Linked DNA regions of Homo sapiens: region 2 is linked to region 1. Evidence: promoter capture Hi-C in 16 types of primary human blood cells and fetal thymus (Javierre and others, 2016). All regions are on one chromosome and are shown on one strand. Each heading gives the region's core, a stretch centred on a gene start or on the middle of the fragment in contact. The rest is flanking DNA. Distances are from core to core; before and after follow the strand shown. Region 1 holds the start of PLCG1 (phospholipase C gamma 1). Region 2 has its middle 55 kb from the start of TOP1.

Region 1 (3,830 bases), core at 1,331-3,830:
AGAAGAGCAGGGTCCACAGAACTTCAAGCCTAAGCCAGTTCAAGCCACACTCTGTGAGCACTCACGTTCTGCTGGATTCCCTGTGCCCAAGGCCAGCGGTGAGCATGCCTCCCCTCACCCATGCTGATTAACCAGATAGCCTCCATGCCCACTGACTACTGACCACCAGGACTTACCTAAGCCAGTGGATCTCCTGTGAGGCAGAAAACTCATGGAGTCAGGCCGACTTGGGTTCTAGTTCCCACCTAGTCATGTTATGTGGCTTTGGGGCAAATTGTAGAACTTCTCTGAATCTCTGTTTCCTCATCAGTAAATTGTGGACCATCATTCCTGATTAGAAGATAATTATGAGGATCAGGTGTGACCACAGGTGCACACCTTCAGCACAGGGTCTACGCTAGCTCCGTCCCGCCCACGTAAAGACCTGCCACTAGGTGGCAGTCCATCTCAGCTACCCCACCGCTCCTTACTCCACAGAGGCTGGCTAGGACAAAGGGTCTCAATGTCATGCTGAATTCTGAGCTTCTTAGGGGACGCACTTGAGGAAATCAACGTTAACACACAAGTTTCCACTACAGCAAGACAAAGTCAGAAGCAGCAGCCCCAGGTCACTATCCAGCTGAGTGGGTTGCCTGAGCACACGCTCTTACAAACTCTAGTCTAGTCCTACTATCTCACAATTCCCAGGAAGCCTGGCTCTTTCTCTGGCATCAGCTGGAAGCTCTGTTGGGCTTCTCACCTCTGAAATGCAGTAAGTTGTCCTGCTGTGCCTGGCAGCCGACCCACTGCCTGGCTCAACATGTCAGACAGGCTCCACCGCGACCGTGGGTGTCCTCAATTTTGGCGGTGCTGACAAGGGTAGATAGATTGCAGGGGTGAGTTTCAAGAATGGCTTCAGAAAGACAAAGAGTATGAATTATATTCCATAACCAGAAAAAGGCCTTGTGGCTGGAGAATGGAGAGTGAAGGATCACTTGTGAGAGATGAAACTGGTGAGATGGGCAGGTCATATAGAACCTGCTAGGCCAAGCAGGGAGTGTGGATTTTAGGTGCAATGGGAATTCACGGAGGGTTTTAGCCTGGATGTAGGGGATCATGATTTAATTTCATTTTAAAGATTTAAAGCATGATAAATCCAGGCAAAACCAAACTGATAGATCCAGGCAAAACCAAACAAGGTGAGTAGTCTGGGTGACAGGAGATGGGGCCTTCAGCTTGTGGGCTGAGTGACAAGGTCTTGATGGATTGGAGGTGAGGCAAAGGGAGGAATCAAAGTTAGCTGCAAGGTTTTTGACCTTCCAACTTAGAGAAGTTTAGCGCCGCGTTCTGAGAAAGTGAAGACTGTGGAAGGAATCGTTTGGGGAGGGAAGGCGAGCTGTCTAAGGGGGGGGGATGTGGAACATGCAGTGGGATGCTGGGGCCTGGAACGTAGGGGAGATGCAGGTTTGGAGTCACCGGTGCCTGTGTTGTTGGGCAAAGCCAGGGGAAAGGTCAGGTCGCCTTGGGATCTGGCCTAGCACTGAGTGCAGAGGAAGAGAAGCTTCTGAGATCGAGAGGCAGCGGCTACAGGAGGAGGAAGAAAGCAAGGCGGGGAAAACCAAAGTTCAGGAGAGCATTTGCAGGAGGGCGCTGCGGGGTAGGGTCTGAGTCGGAGCCCCGAATCGGACTCGAGTCCTGTCGCGTGGGGACGGAGCGTGCAGAGGCCCATGCGAGGGACAGACACAAAGGCCCTGGGAGCTGCAGGTCAGACCACTGGACAGCGCGGCCGCGGACCTAACGCCCCTGTAAGGGGTGCTCACGCTTGGGGGGAACTCTCCGAAAGAGAGGACCACTGAAAGCCACCCTGGCAGCAGGGGCGGAACAGACAGACGTGGGTCTGGCCGTCGCCAGAACTGCCTGCGGACCAGCCCCGCGCTGCCGGGGGGGCGGGACATGTCGGCTGTCCATCAGTGCCCGCGACCAATCCGCAGGCAGCCCCGCCCCCGCCCCTCCCGGGAGAGGGCGCGCGGAGGACCCGCCGCCGCCGGTGTGAGGCGGCCCGTCCTGGCTCCCTTGTCCGGGAAGCCCGCCCAGGTAACTGAGTTTGGCCGGGCATTCCCGGAGGACGCGCCATCCCCTCACGTCCCGTCCCGGTCGCTGCATGGGCGGTGTTCGGGACGCGGGGGCTGCGTCTGTGCGGGACCGCGGGGTAGCGGCCGCCCGTGCGAGTACGCCTGACTGACGCGCCGGCCGCCGGGCCTGCGGCCTGTGGGCGGGGCTGCCGTGCGTGACAGGGCCGCTCGTGGCCGCCGGGCTGTGTCCGGGGCCGCGTGAGAAAGCTCTGCGGGACTGAGGGCTGGGTGGGTCGACCGGGAACGGCGCGCGCTCCCGCCGCCATCGCGCCTCCGTCCCCGCCTGCGGCCTGTCTGGGGGTCGCGGGGCGCAGGCGCGGCGGGCCGACGGGCGGGGGTCCTCCCCACGGGTGCGCGGGCGCCTTTGTTCCCGGCGCCGAAGCGGGGTGGGGCCTCAGGGCAGCCCCGCCCCGCCGCGCTGAGGCCCCGCCCCGTGTCCGCCTGCAGGAGCCGCCGCCGGGTCCCGCTCGTCTGCCGCCTCAGCCTCAGCCCCAACCTCAGCCGCCGCCGTTGCGCTTGCTCCCGGGCGGTCCTGGCCTGTGCCGCCGCCGCCCCCAGCGTCGGAGCCATGGCGGGCGCCGCGTCCCCTTGCGCCAACGGCTGCGGGCCCGGCGCGCCCTCGGACGCCGAGGTGCTGCACCTCTGCCGCAGCCTCGAGGTGGGCACCGTCATGACTTTGTTCTACTCCAAGAAGTCGCAGCGACCCGAGCGGAAGACCTTCCAGGTCAAGCTGGAGACGCGCCAGATCACGTGGAGCCGGGGCGCCGACAAGATCGAGGGGGCCAGTAAGTGCGCCCACTTCCTGCCTGGGCCCGCCCCGCGCGGGGGTCGTGGGAGCCCGGCCCGACTGCTTGCACCCCGGCCGGCCGCCCCAGCGACTTGGGCAAACTTTCGGGCCCTCCCAGACTCCCTCCGGGCCCCGCCCCCGCTTCGTCTCGGGTGGTCACTGGGGGCGGGGGGCATCCGGGTCCTCGGTCACCTGACAGGACACCCCCCCTCCCCCAGCTGGGGGGAGTGTTCCAGGCGCTTTGCCCTGAGGCCTAAAAATCCTCGCGGGCTGGAGACCTGCGGTGCAGGCATCGGGCCCCCCAGACCCTGGGAGTGGTGGCGGCGTCGGCGAGGGGAGCTAAGGCAGTGGCCCCCACCCTGCACGGGAACCTGGGGCCTGACCAGACGGTCCCCGCCCACTCTTTATCCAGAAAGAGCAGTCTGTGAAACTCTCCGGGCCCCCAGGCTGGGCTCTTATTTGCAAAGGAATCTTTGGGTTCCCTAAGTAGAACTTAGGCAGATGTTGGGTAGGGCTGGTCTTGGAGCAGAGCTGGGCCTACTCATCTCCCTCTGGGGGAGAGGGAGGAAGGTGGTCTTGTTTGGTTTGGAGAAGCCTGAGAGAAGCCAGTGGCTGGAATTTTTTTTTTTTTTTTTCTGCTACTTTTGTCCCAAAGCTGGGTTTTGGAGGCCTATGTGGGTGGGCAGACACTCAATGCCAGGGCAGGGACTCCCCTTGCCCTGGGAAGCACGTTCCCAGGAGATGGGCCCCATAAAGGCCTGCCCCAGCGCCTTGGAGTCAGGTATTCTTCTCAGGAGTGCAGCTAGTTTGTGAGTCTAGCCCTTTGTCCTCTGTCCGGTGGCTTCAGGGAGCGGGAGCGGCTTCTCTTAGTTTCCTGCCTTTTCGCCTTCCCAGGCCTGAGCTTGGCTGCTTTTGCGCTGGTCTCTAGTGGG
Region 2 (3,830 bases), core at 737-3,236, 160 kb before region 1:
GAACTTACTGAAATTTTTAAAAATTGAAGTTACATATTGAAAGCACATACTGCATACCTGAAAATATCAACTCAGAATAATCAGACATATTCAAATAAAATTACAGACTTTGAGAAAAGTGGGGTGGTGAGGGGAGAATCCTTCAGCATCTATGTAAATAATTGACTTATAAGGAAAAATCAATTATTATCAGACTTCTCAAGAGCAATGCTTTATACCAAAAGAAAGATGTTACATGTTTAAGATGTTCAAAAACAAAGAATATGTTAATAATTTTATGTCCAGCAAAACTGACTTGAAAGTATAATGGGCAGAGGCAAATTGTTATTAGCATGAAATAGAGGATATTGTTCTCATGGGCTCTTCCTGTAAACGTCTTAGATCAAAAGCTTCAGACAAGCAAAATGACTAGGAAGACAAAAAATGAAATTTAAAAAACTGGTAATGAACGTTAAACATATAGTTACTTATGCAACTAAGACTAAATGAGAATTGTAAAGGAGAAAATATAGCAGGTAATGGCTATACACCCTGACAATGTAGCTACAAGACCACTTTTTTTATTTTTAATTTTTGTGGGTACATAGTGGTTTGGTTTTGTTTTGTTTTGTTTTTGTTTTTGTTTTTGTTTTTGTTTTTGTTTTGAGACAGAGTTTCACTCTGTTGCCCAGGCGGTTGTGCAGTGGCGCAATCTCAGCTCGCTGCAACCTCTGCCTCCTGGGCTTAAGGGATCCTCCTGCCAAAGCTCCCAAGCTGGGACCACAGGTGCACACCACCATGCCCAGCTTATTTTTTAAGGTTTTTTTGTGTAGAGACAAGGTCTCACTATATTGCAGGCTGGTCTCGAACTCCTGGGCTCACGTAATGCTCCTGCCTTGGCCTCTCAAAGTGCTGGGATTACAGGCGTGAGCCACTGCACCGGGCCATAAGTGTATATATTAATATTTGTGGCTTACAGAGATATTTTGATAGAGGCACACAATGTGTAATCGTCAGATCAGGGTAAATGGAGTATCCATCACCTCAAGCGTTTATCCTTTGTGTTACAAACAATCCAATTACTCTTTTAGTTATTTTTAAATGTACAACTATTTTTTATGATAGTCACCCTGTTGTGCTAGCAAATAGTAGGTCTTATTCATTCTTCCTAATTTTTTGTACCCATTAACCATCCTTCTACTCTGTGTCTCCATGAATTCAATCATCTTAATGTTTAGCTCCTACAAATAAGCAAAAACATGCAGTCTTTTTTTTTTTTTTTTTTTTTTTTTTTTTTGCAGCAGAGTCTCTCACTGTGTTGCCAGGCTGGAGTACAATGGCATAATCTTGGCTCACTGCAACCTCCGCCTCCCAGGCTTCAGCGGTTCTCCTGCCTCAGCCTCCAGAGTAGCTGGGATTACAGGCACGCGCTCCTGAACCCAACTAGTTTTTTTTTATTTTTAGTAGAGATGGGGTTTCACCATGTTGCCCAGGCTGGTCTTGAACTCTTAACCTCAAATGATCCAAATGATCCACTTTGGAAGCCTCGGCCTTCCAAAGTGCTGGGATTACAGGCATGAGCCACCGCACCTAGCCCGAAGTTTGTCTTTCTGTGCCTAGCTTATTTCACTTAACATAATGACTTCCAGTTCCAACCATGTTGTTGCAAATGACAGGATACCATTCTTTTTATGACTGAATAGTATTCCATTGTGTATATGCACCACATTTTCTTTATCCACTCATCTGTTGATGGATTGCTTCCAAATCTTGACTATTGTGAATAGTGCTGCAGTAAACATGAGAGTGCAAATATCTCTTTGATATACTGATTTCCTTTGTTTTGGGTATATACCCAGCAGTGGGATTGCTGGATTGTACGGTAGCTCTATTTTTAGTTTTTTGAGGAACCTCCAACTTGTTCTCCATAGTGGTTGTACTAATTAACATTCCCACCAGCAGTGTACAAGAGTTCCCTTTTCTCCACATCCTCACCAGCATTTGTTATTCCCTGTCTTTGGGATAAAAGCCATTTTAACTGGGGTGACATGATAACTCATTGTAGTTTTGATTGGCATTTCTCTAATGATCAATGACTTTGAGCACCTTTTCATATACCTGTGTGCTATTTATATGTCTTCATTTGGGAAATGTCTATTCAGATATTTTGCCCATTTTTAATAGAATTATTAGGTTTTTTCCTATAGAGTTATTTGAGCTCCTTATATATTCTGTTATTAGTCCCTTGTCAGATGGGTAGTTTGCCAATATTTTCTCCCATTCTATGGGAGGTTTTTTGAGGGTTTTTTTTATCATGAAGGCTGTTGAATTTTATCAAATGGTTTTTCAGCATCAATTGAAATGATCTTATGATTTTTGTCCTTCATTCTGTGATTCTATGATTCTATGGGTTGTCTATGATTCTATGGGATTCTATGATTCTGTGATTCTGTGGGTTTCTCTTCACTTGTTGATTGTTTCCTTTGCTGTGTAGAAGTTTTTTTTAACTTGGTGTGATCCCATTTGTCCATTTTTGCTTTAGTTGCCTGTGCTTGTGGGTTATTATTACTCAAGAAATCCTTTACCTCTCCAATGTCCTGGAGGGTTTCCTCAGTGTTTTCTTTTTGTGGTTTCATAGTTTGAGGTCTTACATTTAAGTCTTTAATCAATTTGGATTTGATTTTTCTATGTGGTGAAAGATAGGAGTCTAGTATCATTCTCCTGCATGTGGATATCCACTTTTCCCAGCACCATTTATTGAAGAGAATGTCCTTTCCCCAATGTATGTTATTGGTACCTTTGCCAAAAATGAGTTCACCCTAGATATATGGATTCATTCGGGAGTTCTCTATTCTGCTCTACTAGTGCATGTGTCTGTTTTTATGCCAGTACTATGCTGTTTTGGTTCCTATAGCTATGTAATATAATTTGAAGGCAGGTAATGTGATTCTTCCAGTTTTGTTCTTTTCGCTCAGGATCGCTTTGGCTATTCTGGGTCTTTTGTGGTTCCATATAAATTTTAGGATTGTTTATTCTATTTCTGTGAAGAATGTCATTGGTGTTTTGATAGGGATTGCATTGAATCTGTAGATTCCTTTGGGTAGTAAGGACATTTTAACAATATTGATTCTTCTAATCCATGAATATGAAATATCTTTCCATTTCCTTGTGTCCTCTTCAGTTTCTTTCACCACTGTTTTATCATTTTAATTGTAGAGATCTTTCACCTCTTTGGTTAAGTTAATTCCCAGGTATTTTATTTTATTCGTGGCAATTGTAAATGGGATTAATTTCTTGAATTCTTTTTCAGGTTGTTCGCTGTTGGCAAATAGAAATGGTACTGACTTTGGTATGTTGTTTTTGTATCCTGCAGCCTTATTGAATTTGTTTATCAGTTCTAATAATTTTTTGGTGGAGTCATTGGATTTTTTCAAATATAAAGATTATATAATCTGAAAACAAAGATAATCTGAATTCTTTCTTTCCAATTTCGATGCCCTTTATTTCTTTCTCCTGTCTGATTGTTCTAGATAGGATTTCCAGTACTATGTTGAATAACAGTGATGAAAGTGGCCATCCTTGTAGTGCTTCAGATCCTAGAGGAAAAGCTTTCAGTTTTTCCCCATTCAGTATGGTACTAGCTATGGGTCTGTTGTATATGGGTTTTATTATGTTGAGGTATGTCCTTCTATACCCAGGTTTTTTGAGGGTTTTTATCATGAAGGGCTGTTGAATTTTATCAAATGCTTTTTCAGCATCAATTGAAATGATCTTATGATTTTTGTCCTTCATTCTGTGACATGATGTACCACATTGATTTATTTGCATATGTTCAACCATCTTTGCATCAC

What was found. Contacts are between HindIII fragments. The CHiCAGO score rates a contact against its expected background, and 5 or more counts as called.
Region 2: a contact is called between a fragment that was not itself captured here and the fragment with the promoter of PLCG1 in region 1, in 12 of 17 cell types (activated CD4 T cells, naive CD8 T cells, non-activated CD4 T cells and 9 more). The highest score is 17.7, in activated CD4 T cells.

What each region holds. Positions count from the first base shown.
Region 1 is chr20:41,134,963-41,138,792 of GRCh38, forward strand. It overlaps PLCG1 (phospholipase C gamma 1), which reads left to right and starts at 2,581. Exons shown (of 32, transcript NM_002660.3): 1 at 2,581-2,896. The coding sequence starts at 2,680. LOC124904903 (translation initiation factor IF-2-like) reads right to left here and starts at 2,551. Exons shown (of 2, transcript XM_047440629.1): 1 at 740-2,551; 2 at 1-330. The coding sequence starts at 2,377. The coding sequence ends at 1,796. PLCG1-AS1 (PLCG1 antisense RNA 1) reads right to left here and starts at 3,038. Exons shown (of 7, transcript NR_109889.1): 1 at 2,752-3,038; 2 at 740-849; 3 at 177-330. RefSeq lists enhancers at 1,096-1,880, 2,665-3,449, 3,371-3,470, 3,619-3,698 and silencers at 1,851-2,840, 2,961-3,220. The HindIII fragment of the contact is 8,103 bases long and covers 1,539-3,830 here.
Region 2 is chr20:40,971,641-40,975,470 of GRCh38, forward strand. No RefSeq gene overlaps it. Among named protein-coding and RNA genes, the nearest start is that of TOP1, 55 kb to the right of the region's middle. The HindIII fragment of the contact is 3,198 bases long and covers 388-3,585 here.